Regions from separate parts of the Homo sapiens genome. Here regions 2 and 3 are each linked to region 1. Evidence: promoter capture Hi-C in human tissues and cell types (Jung and others, 2019). All regions are on one chromosome and are shown on one strand. The core of a region is centred on a gene start or on the middle of the fragment in contact, and the rest is flanking DNA. Distances in the headings are between cores, read along the strand shown.

Region 1 (3,802 bases), core at 46-2,545:
TTAATGTGAAATCTCTAAGTGAGTTCCTGAAAAAAAATTGAGAACAACAAAAACAATTTTTTATATATTTAATGCTAAGCAATTTAAAAAATGTTTTCGGACAGGTGCGGTGGCTCACGCCTGTAATCCCAGCACTTTAGGAGGCCGAGGCGGGCCGAGGTCAGGAGTTCGAGACCAGCCTGGCCAAAATGGTGAAACCCTGTCTCTACTAAAAGTACAAAAATTAGCTGGGTGTGGTGGCCTGTGCCTGTAATCCCAGCTACTCGGGAGGCTGAGGCAGGAGAATCGTTTGAACCCGGGAGGCAGAGGTTGCAGTGAGCCGAGATGGCGCCATTGCACTCCAGCCTGGGCAACAGGGCAAGACACCATCTCAAAAAGACAAAAAGTTTAAAAAATTTTCATATGCTCTATTTTATTTGAGTCTGTCACCTGCCTGATTTAGGGATGGTGGATAGTATTATTCTCAGTTTGCAGGTAGAAATATGAAGACTTATGGAGACTAAGTGACCTGTACAAGGGCAGGCAACTGTACAACTGGCATTAGAGTAGTCTCAGACTCAAATCAAGACTTCTGATTTGAAGTTCCTTATTTTCCTCTATCGCACTCCATTAATTTATTTAATGTACATTATTGAACACCAACTATTTCAGGTACTGTGTTAGGTGCAGCATATAATAAGAAAGTTGATAATCTGTCTATTTTACAATTAAAAAAAGAATGTGCAATACATGCACTTGGGGAAAAATTCAGTACAGTAACTGCTACTCTTCTCCCCTCTCCCTCTTCTCCTAATCCCTCTCTCCTGATATAATCACTGTTATCTGGAAATCTTTGACTATACAGGCTAAGTCCCCTGTATCTGCCGCGAGGTCCTTCCTGGAGGTGCTGACTGGACTAGCTGATGTTGGCTAGATGACCGCCAACCAGATGACCTTGGCTAACTGATCTTATCCCTTGGGCCGCTGTGGCACAGGATGAGTGAGCTACGCCTGGTAACAAGAGTGCCACTCTCGTGTAAGGGGGCTGCGAAGTAGAAAGGAGGCCAGCCCTTTGGAAGATGTTTCTAGAGGGTGTGGGCAGAACCAAGTCTCGGTAGTTAGGAAGATCTTGGCTCCAAAGTTTAACTTGCAGCGTCCCGGCCGGGTTCACAGCGCATGGGACAGGGGGGGCGGGGCGATGCGGAGGCGGAGCGGGGCGATGCGATGCGGGGCGGAGCGGGGCGGGGCGGCGACGCGCGGCGCGGTGCGGCGCGCGGCCGACGTGGCAGCCGCAGGAGCATGCGCCGCCCGTGGCCATCTTGTAGGCGGGGACACGCCGAGGTAACTTCCAGGGTGCGCCTTCGTTGTCTTCTCCAAGCTGTAGTTCTACGTCCCGACCTCCCTATCATACCACACTCTTCAGCGACCACGCAGGCACTTTCCCGGTCCCCAGGTGAGCGCCAGGTGGCTCCGAGGGGCGTGTATGAGGGGGGTGGCATGGCATGGCATGGCTTGCAGGCGCCAGAGCCAGACCCCGAGGGACGGTGTCCCTGGAAGGTGGGCGGGCCGGCCGGCGCCACTGGACGCCGATGTCGTTTGCGAGCCCCCTAGTCCCGTGGTCCAGGCTCAGCTGTGGCGGCGTGCGGGGTGCAGCAGGCAGGAGTGCACATCGCAAGGTGAGCAGTTTCCGCTGGGGATGGCACGGTGGGCGCGGTTCGAGGGTCTCGCCCCGCGACACTTTGCTCCTGTCCAAGGACCAAGGCAGGAGCGCTCTGGCCCCACCTTCCAGGGCGCTGACTTTAGGGGAGACTGGCGGGAGCGCCGGCGGACCTTAGCCCGGCCCTGTCTGGCCTGGAGACGTGGCAGAGCCTGAGGGGAAGCCGCTGTCTCCTGAAACAGGATTTCGGCCGCTCTGGCCCTGGAGAGGCCCAGGAGGCTCGAGAGTCATCACACCAGGACCTGCAATGAAAGGAAGCTTATTTTCCCTGAGGTTACCCCATCGGTGCTTAGCGCCGCTTGGGAGAGTTTTTGCATTCTCTCGTTTCTTTGTTTGGTCTTGGGACCTGCTTCAGGCAAATTTGCAGATAGCACGTTTCCTAGATTGACAGAATTTATAGCCAATAGTGTTTTTGTCATTCGAAGTAGTTATTTTGAGAGACAACATGTGCATTTCTGCGATCGTGACACATCTTGGCATTCAGTCTTTCTCCTGTGCAGCCAGTGTTTAATTCAGTGAAAATTTATAAAATTTTATTTCGGGGTCAGATTAGGCTCTAACTAGCGCTCACTGTTTGGTAGTAGAGACAATCTTGTGGCACGAGTAGGTCAGCAATAATTGCTCTTAATGCTTTAAAGTTTATCAGAGCTTCACTCTTCCATTTCTTGTAAACTTGTAAATAGACATCCACTTTTTTTTTTTTTTTTTAACAGAAAAACCAAGGCACAAGCAAATTGGAACAACAGGGTCTAGCCGGACTGAGAACTCAGTTTTCCAAACCATTTTCTTCACTTTTTCTTTAGTGTTGATATATGAATAGTACTTTTCGTGACAAGACTTGAGCCCTAAAACAGTTACCAACTCTGACACTTCAGTATTGTTTTATCATAATAGGTTTTTTTAGTAGAAGGCACTATGTTTATGCATGTAAAATTTACCTCAGTATTGCCATTACGGCAGTTTTCATATAAAAAGCCATTAAAGACAAAGAAATTGATTATTTATTCCACTTAATGACTTTGTATTCATTGTACAGTTTCTTTTGCAGACACATTTGTTAATGTTAGGGATTCTCTTACAATAGGACTTCTACTAGTCATTGTAAGGATTGGGGAGCATCTGTAGTAGAGGGTGAATGACCAATAAAAAATTAAATGAAGAAAAGAGGGAGCTTTGGTTGAGGAGTGGTAAAATCTCCAAAGGGGCATTTCTATCTCAGGTTATTTACCTTCGATGTATAGGTACTGAATGAAAGGATTCAGCCTCCCCGGATCCCTGTTCTCTGCTTAGTGCCATAGATCTTTCCTACGTTCACAGCCAAACTTTTTGAAAGTGTCATGCGTGTTAGTCTCACCTGCCACTGCTCGATTCAGTTTACACTGGAATCTTTCTCCACTCTTTATATGAAAACCGTTCTCCCTAAATTCATCTCCAGTTTGGCAGATCCATTGAACTTCTCAGATAGTATCCTATTTGGCTTCTCTGCAGCATTAATACTGTTGCCCATTCATACTGCGAAACTCTGGCTTTTGGACACCACAGTCTCCTGGTTTTCTTCCTTTCTTTTAGCTCATCTCTTATTCTCTGCAAACTTGTCTTCCATCTTACTAAACCAATAATTGGTTTAACATCATATTCTCTTTTCTCTTGGTATTCTCTTACGTAATCTCATCTCAAAACATGACGTTAGACTATCAGTACACTGATGACACCCACATTTATGTGGTTGCTAAGCTCCAGACCAAGTCAGTGTCTCTACTTAGATGTTTGTTTCAAGGAACTTAAACAGCATGTCAAAGACTAAACATTTTATGATTTCCCCCATCCGACTCCCCCAGAAAGAACATCAAACACATTGGCCTTCTGCAGTGTTTCCTATCTTTGTGCATGGCACCACCATCTATCTAGTTGTGCAAGTCATGCCTCCTTTCCCTTCCTCCATACCCAGTCACTGAATTTTGCCACCTAATCTTGTCTTGAACTTATTTACTTTTCTCCATCTCCACTATCATCACTTGAGTCTAGGTCAGAGTTTTTCAACTTTGGCACTATTGAAATTTGGGGCCACTTAATTCTTGTGTGTAGGCTGTGCATTGGAGGATTTTT
Region 2 (4,140 bases), core at 1,184-3,683, 560 kb before region 1:
CTCAGGCCCTTAATACATTTAAAATTATCCATTTGTATGGGATGAGACATTAATCTACCTTTCTTTTTCATGAAGAGAACTAAATCACTTATTAAATAATCCTTTCTTTTCCCACTTATTTTTAATGCCTTGTCTACTCTATGCCAAATTCCCACATACATTTTGGAGATTGTTTTCGGAGTTTCTACACTGTTAAAATGAATAGGTCTCAGATTTTTGTCAGAACCTGTTTTTAAACAGTTTTCTTCTAGTCCTCAAATTGTCCATCTGTACCGCAACCTAACGATTTCTTTTGTCTTCAGTTACCCTGAAGATATTTTTAAACCAAGCCTCTTTGTTTATAAATGAAGAAACAAAGATGCAGAGATCTTATATTTCCCATTCAGGTTTACACAGCAAGACAATTAGAAAGCTTGAACTAGGTCCAGGCATGGTGGCTCACGCCTGTAATCTCAGCACTTTGGGAGGCCAAGGAATGCAAATAGCTTGAGCCCAGGAGTTCGAGACCAGCCTGAAAATACAGTGAAACTCTGTCTCTACTAAAAATACAAAAAAACAAAATTAGCCAGGTGTGGTGGCGGGCACCTGTAATCCCAGCTACTTGGGAGGCTGAGGCAGGGGAATCACTTGAACCTGGGAGGTGGAAGTTGCAGTGAGCCAAGATTGCGCCACTGTACTCCAGCCTGGGCAACAGAGTGAGGCTCTGTCTCCAAAAAAAAAAAAAAAAAAAAAAAAAACCAAAAAAACAACAACAAAAACAAAAAAACAAACAATAACAAAAAAAAACCCAGAAAGCTTGAACTCAGATCTTAACCTGCATCCCAATCCACTTTCCACTAATGCCTTCCTCACTAAAAGTTTCCATTTTCTGTGAACATTTTACTTTCATCAGTAGTTGAACGAAACTGCCCATTTCACCAAATCTTTGTCATGACTAGGTTTTATCATTTAAAACATCTCTTTGAATTGGCAGGTTAAGAACGGTGTTTCTTTCTTTTTAAAATATGGGGTCTCACTATGTTGCCCAGGTTGGCCTGGACCTGCTGGCTTCAGGTGATCCTCCCACCTCAGCCTCCTGAGTAGCTGGGACTATGGGCACATGCCATGGTGCCACTGTGCCCGGCTAAGAATGGTATTCTTTTATTAGAGTTTTTTTTGACATAAACATTTTAGTAAATATACATTAAGTAATAAATATTCCTTTAAAACTTTATCACGTTTCTTGGCCATAGTATTTAGTCTTTTTTATTTGTCTATTCATGTCTTTTCCTTACTTTCCTATTGAGTTATATTTTTTGCCTTTTTATTAGTGGTGCTTAAGAATTCCATGTATATATTAAAGATAGTAACCTTTTGTCACATATGTTTAACTTTAAAAACATTCAGTTATTTGTCTTCTAATTTTGTTTACAGGCTATTTGACACATAAGCTTTAGAAGTTAAACCTATCAATCATTTTTTCTGCAGTCTCTTCCATCATTCCTGTACTTCCAAGTGCAGATAAATACTCATCCTAGATTTTTCTATAGCTTTATGATTTCATAAAACCTTCAATCCATTTGTAATTTATTTTGGTGTATTGCATGATGTTAAAAAGTAACTTTCATTTTCTCCCAATGGTTTCTCAATTGGATCAATCTTATTTTTGATAACTTCTTTATTTATATGTCATCTTTATCTGTAGTAAATTCTTATACATACTTGAATCTGTTCCTAGATTCTGCTTCATTAATCTATTTTTGTAAAACATCACATTTAAAAATTATTATAGACTTATAATTCATTTTTAATAACTGGTAGAGGAAGATTCCCAACATTACTGTGCTCAGATTTTACTCATCATTTCTGTTGTTTATCCTTCCTGATATTTTTAAAATCATCATCTAAAATTGTTACCTTGTTAAAAATGTATTTAAGCTGAACAATAATATAGAAAGAATTGTGTCTTGCAAATATTTAGTTTTCTCATCTAGGAACATAGTATTTATTCAAATTTTCTTTTATTTTGCTCAGTATTTTAGTTTTCCAAATATAGATTTATTACTGAATATTTTATACTCTTGTAAATGGGACATTTCCCATTACATGTTATAACTACTTATTGCCCATACACGGGAAAGCTATTGATTTTAGTTTTATTTTGTATACAGATTTTTATTATCAAATTTTTATTTATTACTTTGTGTTGATTCTTTTAAGTTTCTAGGTAAACAGAAATATAACATACAAATCATGGCTATCTTTCTCCTCCTTTTCTCTGCTTTCTGTTTCTTAGATGGGCAGTAGCTTCCAGAATAATACTGAATGATCATGATGACAGGGAATATCTTTGTCTTGTTTTACATTTTAATAAGGTTACTTGATTTTAATAAGGTGCTTCCAGTTTACCATTAACCGTCCTCTATATTGTTTCTCTGGCCAAGACAAGTGATTATATTAAGATGTATATTAGTTTAATAAATGGTCTAGCTTGCTTACTTTTTCTTGAATTAAAGCTTTTTCTTTACAGAGTTCAATTTTCTTAAACTTCTAAAAGCCCACTGCTTTTGTATTCTGTATTTTTTCTTTTTCATGATCTAATTCTTCATATTCCATTCTAGGTCCCTAGTTACTTCTGATCTAATCTGCTCATCACTGCCTTTAAATTAATTAATCTTTGAATCCAAAAAGGGTGTCAGGACTGGGAAGTATATAGAAGACAGATCAAGGGTACTGAATATTCTTCTAGTTAATAATCAAATGTGACTTTTTTTTTAAAAATGCCACTTGTTTACTTGAATAGAAATTGATTGATTCCTGGCACACAGAGGAGACAAGTTGACAACGGCCATTTGACTGATTTTTAAGTGTAATGTGCAATTAAAACAAACCTAACTCCACAATGATGGGGCTATTTTAAAGCAACATAGGATCCAAGTGAATGAGCTACCACTAATGACCAACAGTGGAACAATCTAAGTAACGAAATAAGTGAAGTATTATATTATTGCCAAAGTATAAAATGAATACCCATTAGTCCACACTGCTTTAAATAAATGATTGAATAAATAAAGGGGAAGGGGGAGAAAAGACAAATCTCTTGTGCAGATGAAATCCAAATAATTTATGTGGACACTGACCAACACTGACCATAAGGAAGTGGAGCGTAACTCCCTATTCCTTGAGTATAGGCCATCTCTTCCAAAGGCTATAGTATGGAAAGGGGGAAGGAATAATTTTACTATGAAGAAACCTGACAAACGCTACCTCAGCCAGGTGATCAAGGTCAACATCAACAGTGATAGGGCATGTTGGTAGTATGTTTCCTTGATATGATGTGATGAAAAATAGCCCTTTACTTCTATGGGCTTCCTCCCTTAAATCCATAATCCCAGTCTATTTATGTGAAAAACAGCAAACAAATCCCAAACAGTCCCAAAAAAGGGACTTTTTACAAAATAGCTGACCAGCATTTCTCAAAACTATCTAGGTCATCAAAAACAAAGAAAGTCTGAGAAACTATCCCAGCCAAGAGGAGTCCAAGGAGGCAATGAAAACTAAATGTATCATAGGCTCCTGGATGGGATCCTGAAACACAAAAAGAATGTTAGGTAAAATCTAAGTAAATATGAATGATGTATGGACTTTAGCTAATATCATAATAATGCATCAATCTTGGTCCTTTGTTCTGACAAATATACCACACTAATGTAAGACATTAATAATAGGGGAAAGAAGGTGCAAGGAATAGGGAAAATCCCTGTAATATCTTAGCAATTTTTTCCTGTCACTACAAAACTGTTCTAAAAAAGAGTTTATTTAGAAAATAATCACACCTTAAATGATCACGGCCAATAATTTTTGAATGTTCTTAAAGCCGTAATTACTATACCTCCATGGAAAACAACTCAGTAACTAATAGACAGTAAGCATTGCTTGGTATTCCGACCAGCAGCACTTCCTCTACTAATTACCAATGTACCTTTGTCTCCTAGGTTATTAGTTAGTTATAGTTCCACCGAAGGCACTCAGTTATGCTCTAAGAGCTCCTCTGAGAAAACCGCAAGAAGAAATGGGCATAAATTGCAGCAGGAGGGGTTTGAGTTAGAGTTTTAGAATGCTATGAAGTCAAGCTGTGTGATATTCCCTGCTAATTATCTT
Region 3 (3,964 bases), core at 993-3,492, 670 kb after region 1:
TCAAGATTCATTAGGCAAACTTTGGTTTAAGTAAACATATGTTCAAAATCAGATTAACAGATACAGGTTTCATAGAGAACAAAGGTGATCATTTGAAGGGCATGCTGTAATTTCACACAATTTTCCAGTTCAAAAATGGAGAATACTTCGCCTAAAATACTGTTAAGTGGGTTAATTGATACAAGTTTCTGTGGTGGAAAATTTATGCAGGTTTTCACGAATCCTTTTTTTTTTTTTTTTTTTTTTTTGAGACGGAGTCTTGCTCTGTTGCCACGCTGGAATGCAGTAACGTGATCTTGGCTCACTGCGACCTCCACCTCCCCAGTTCAAGCGATTCTCCTGCCTCAGCCTCCCTAGTAGCTGGGACTACGGGTGCACGCCACCATGCCCAGCTAATTTTTGTATTTTGAGTAGAGACAGGGTTTCACCGTGTTGGCTAGGATGGTGTCTATCTCTTGACCTTGTGATCCACCCGCCTCAGCCTCCCAGAGTGCTGGGATTACAGGTGCGAGCCACTGCGCCTGGCTGGTTTTCATGAATCTTGATAGACATCTATAACGTTATTATTTTCAGTGGTGTGCAGCATTTTTGCTTCATGAGTATGACCTAGGTATAGAGATCTGATAACTTGAATTCAGAATATTAAGAAAATGAAGTAACTGATTTTCTAAAAAAAAAAAAAAAAAAAATTTCTACATTATAACTCACAGCATTGTTCCATTGCAGGTTTTGCAATGTTTGGGGGTAAAGACAGTAGAAATATTATTCAGTAAACAATAATGTGTGAACTTTTAAGATGGATAATAGGGCATGGACTGAGTGCTGCTATCTTGAAATGTGCACAGGTACACTTACCTTTTTTTTTTTTTTTTTTAAGTTTTTCCCATTCAGGAAAACAACATTGTGATCTGTACTACAGGAACCAAATGTCATGCGTCATACATGTGGGTATAAAGTACATAAAATATATCTAACTATTCATAATGTGGGGTGGGTAATACTGTCTGTGAAATAATGTAAGAAGCTTTTCACTTAAAAAAAATGCATTACTTTCACTTAACACTAGACACCAGGTCGAAAATTTTCAAGGTTATAGTACTTATTTCAACAATTCTTAGAGATGCTAGCTAGTGTTGAAGCTAAAAATAGCTTTATTTATGCTGAATTGTGATTTTTTTATGCCAAATTTTTTTTAGTTCTAATCATTGATGATAGCTTGGAAATAAATAATTATGCCATGGCATTTGACAGTTCATTATTCCTATAAGAATTAAATTGAGTTTAGAGAGAATGGTGGTGTTGAGCTGATTATTAACAGTTACTGAAATCAAATATTTATTTGTTACATTATTCCATTTGTATTTTAGGTTTCCTTTTACATTCTTTTTATATGCATTCTGACATTACATATTTTTTAAGACTATGGAAATAATTTAAAGATTTAAGCTCTGGTGGATGATTATCTGCTAAGTAAGTCTGAAAATGTAATATTTTGATAATACTGTAATATACCTGTCACACAAATGCTTTTCTAATGTTTTAACCTTGAGTATTGCAGTTGCTGCTTTGTACAGAGGTTACTGCAATAAAGGAAGTGGATTCATTAAACCTATTTAATGTCCATTCTTATATCTGTTTAATAAGTCTTTGCCAGCTTTGTGGTTTTATCTCATTTCGATAACTATTGCTTCATTCATTTCTGAATTTTTAAAATAGCTTTTACCTTAATATTCACGCCCTGGAAAAGTCGTTCACTATTCTTAAACCTTTGCAATAATCACTGTTGATGCTCACAGTATGACTGAACCATCTGAGATGCAGCTCATTATGGTATTTTTTTAAGTGACCTAGCTTTTCTAATTCTGCTTTATCTTTGGGCCAGATCTCTCATTTGTGAATGAGGAAACTGGAAGATTAAAAGCGATTCATAGTCCCTGAATATAATCTGATTCTTTCCTTCCAAAGATTTTTGTCTAAGCTCATTTAGAGTTTTAGAAAGCATTTTCATTTTCTCATTTGAATATGACTGTAGGTGTGTATATATGCAGGACAGCTATTTCTTTTACTCTTGAGAAAGCAGCTTGGAGCAGTTTAGGGAGTTTTCCAAGGTCATGGGGTAAATCAAGGAAGGATATTGGTCTAGAGCCCAGGTCTTTTATCCCCAGGAATTTCTTTATTATGCATTCACTGCTGGCTGATCCATAAGATAGATGGCTGGGATAGATTGGTCATTTCCAGATTGGTCATTTCCAAATTACTTACACCTGTCCGCCCAGTAAATGTGTGTTCAGGTAAGGCAAATTATAGTTAGAAATATAGGTTGGCTACAGGCTGCCTTTAATAGGTTTGAAACAAAATGTAAATATCCATTTTTTGATTTGTCATCTTCCTTATTCTCAAGCCACTATTCAGGCCAGTTTACTCACTTATTTGGAAAGCTAAAAGAGAATTTGAAGGCAACTATGTATGTGACATTTTCTAATATCAGACCATCCAACAGTTTTTAAAACAGGAACATCATTCACCTTTGAGCCAGCAGGCTTTTGTTGTTCACTCACCAGGAAGAAAAGATAAATCCATTTGATATGCTTCCCTCTTTATGTTTATGTACCTATAGGAAGTTTGTAGGTCCAGAGGAAATAGATGGTAGTTTAATGTTTAACTTTTGGGGAAAAGATGGTACAAGTTCTAGGATATGCTCAATAGAAAGTACTATTTAGTTTCTCTAGTTCAGATAATAAATACAACATGTTGGTGGGTTAACCAACTTGACATATTTTTTTTGGTAGTAGTCGAATACCTAAGGATCTAAGTCTCATTGTCCTGTATGGAATCTGGTGGCAATGGTGATGGACCTGTTTTACCTATATGATGGGCATTTAACATGGTCTGTTAAATGATAGCATTAAGAACCTCAGCCCATTTTTTTCCCTCCTTAAATCTACCTTTTAATTTTTTCTTAGACAAGGTAAAAGTTTGAAACTATTAGGGAAAATGTGAATGCCTCTGCATTTGTCCCCTCCTGCTGTGCAGCCTTCCTTGTGGCTGCTGTCCTCACAGATCAGGAACTCATTCCCCAAAATGATAGTGTATTGGTAACACATATCCTTTGTTCCACGATTCTAGGATATGAATACAAACTACCAGTGTATTCTACCCAAAGCTACAAATGAAAATAAGCTTACTTTTTTGATCCACAAAACAGGATCAGGATCCATTGGTATTGAATGCCAAAATCTGACTCAATACTTGTCAGAATTTTGTTAGAATACTACCGAAGCTTTTGAGGTAGAGAATTGTGGAGGTTTCATCCTGGAAGAGTTAACTTCGTCTTAAGAAAGCAAGCAATTTATAGGGTGACTTTATATCCAGCTATTATATCTCTAAGATATACTAAAAAAGACAGTTTTAAAATTAAGTAGGCACTGTTCATATTTATTTATATAAGGTACATATAAAGGTGTATAACTACTAAAAGATACTACATTTGCTCTTTTACATTCTAAATTAAGCTTCAGTTGAGCCATTTTTTCAAGGAAGTCACAATTTGAAAAGGAGCAATCTATAGGCATGCATTTGGATAACCAGAAAGTCACAGATTATTTTTAAGTTTACAACATTTTTGCTTAAGCCATGAAAACTATCCTCTGAGTTCCTAAGAAATGTTACTATTTAAGAAATTTAGAAGATGACAAGGACAGTTTGGGAAGGAGGTGGCTGGTGACAGTGAGATGAAAAATTATGCTCCAAGAAAAGGTTTATGAATTGCAAAATATGTGCCTTTAAGTCTTAGTGTCATATTTCCTTTTGGGAAATAGTGAACTGTGAAGAAGTTAGTTTTTTTCTGAATTTTTAAATCTGTTGACACAACCAGCACCTTCTGTTAGCTACACGGTGCCAGTCTCAGAGCTATAATAATCTACATCTTTCAGGTAGTCTGTTTTCTCTGTGGTCTTTCCATCAG

Evidence for each region. Contacts are between HindIII fragments. The study calls those that stand out against the background at their distance.
Region 2: a fragment that was not itself captured here is called in contact with the fragment with the promoter of PRRC1 in region 1 in 1 of the 25 tissues and cell types used here (aorta).
Region 3: a fragment that was not itself captured here is called in contact with the fragment with the promoter of PRRC1 in region 1 in 1 of the 25 tissues and cell types used here (spleen).

Annotation. Positions count from the first base shown.
Region 1 is chr5:127,516,345-127,520,146 of GRCh38, forward strand. It overlaps PRRC1 (proline rich coiled-coil 1), which reads left to right and starts at 1,296. Exons shown (of 9, transcript NM_130809.5): 1 at 1,296-1,432. RefSeq lists a silencer at 1,164-1,233 and an enhancer at 1,294-1,473. The HindIII fragment of the contact is 6,341 bases long and covers 1-3,185 here.
Region 2 is chr5:126,955,935-126,960,074 of GRCh38, forward strand. All of the region lies in intron 1 of MARCHF3 (membrane associated ring-CH-type finger 3), which reads right to left. Among named protein-coding and RNA genes, the nearest start is that of MARCHF3, 73 kb to the right of the region's middle. The HindIII fragment of the contact is 3,661 bases long and covers 604-4,140 here.
Region 3 is chr5:128,188,066-128,192,029 of GRCh38, forward strand. SLC12A2 (solute carrier family 12 member 2) reads left to right here. Exons shown (of 27, transcript NM_001046.3): 27 at 1-1,612. Among named protein-coding and RNA genes, the nearest start is that of SLC12A2, 110 kb to the left of the region's middle. The HindIII fragment of the contact is 3,650 bases long and covers 418-3,964 here.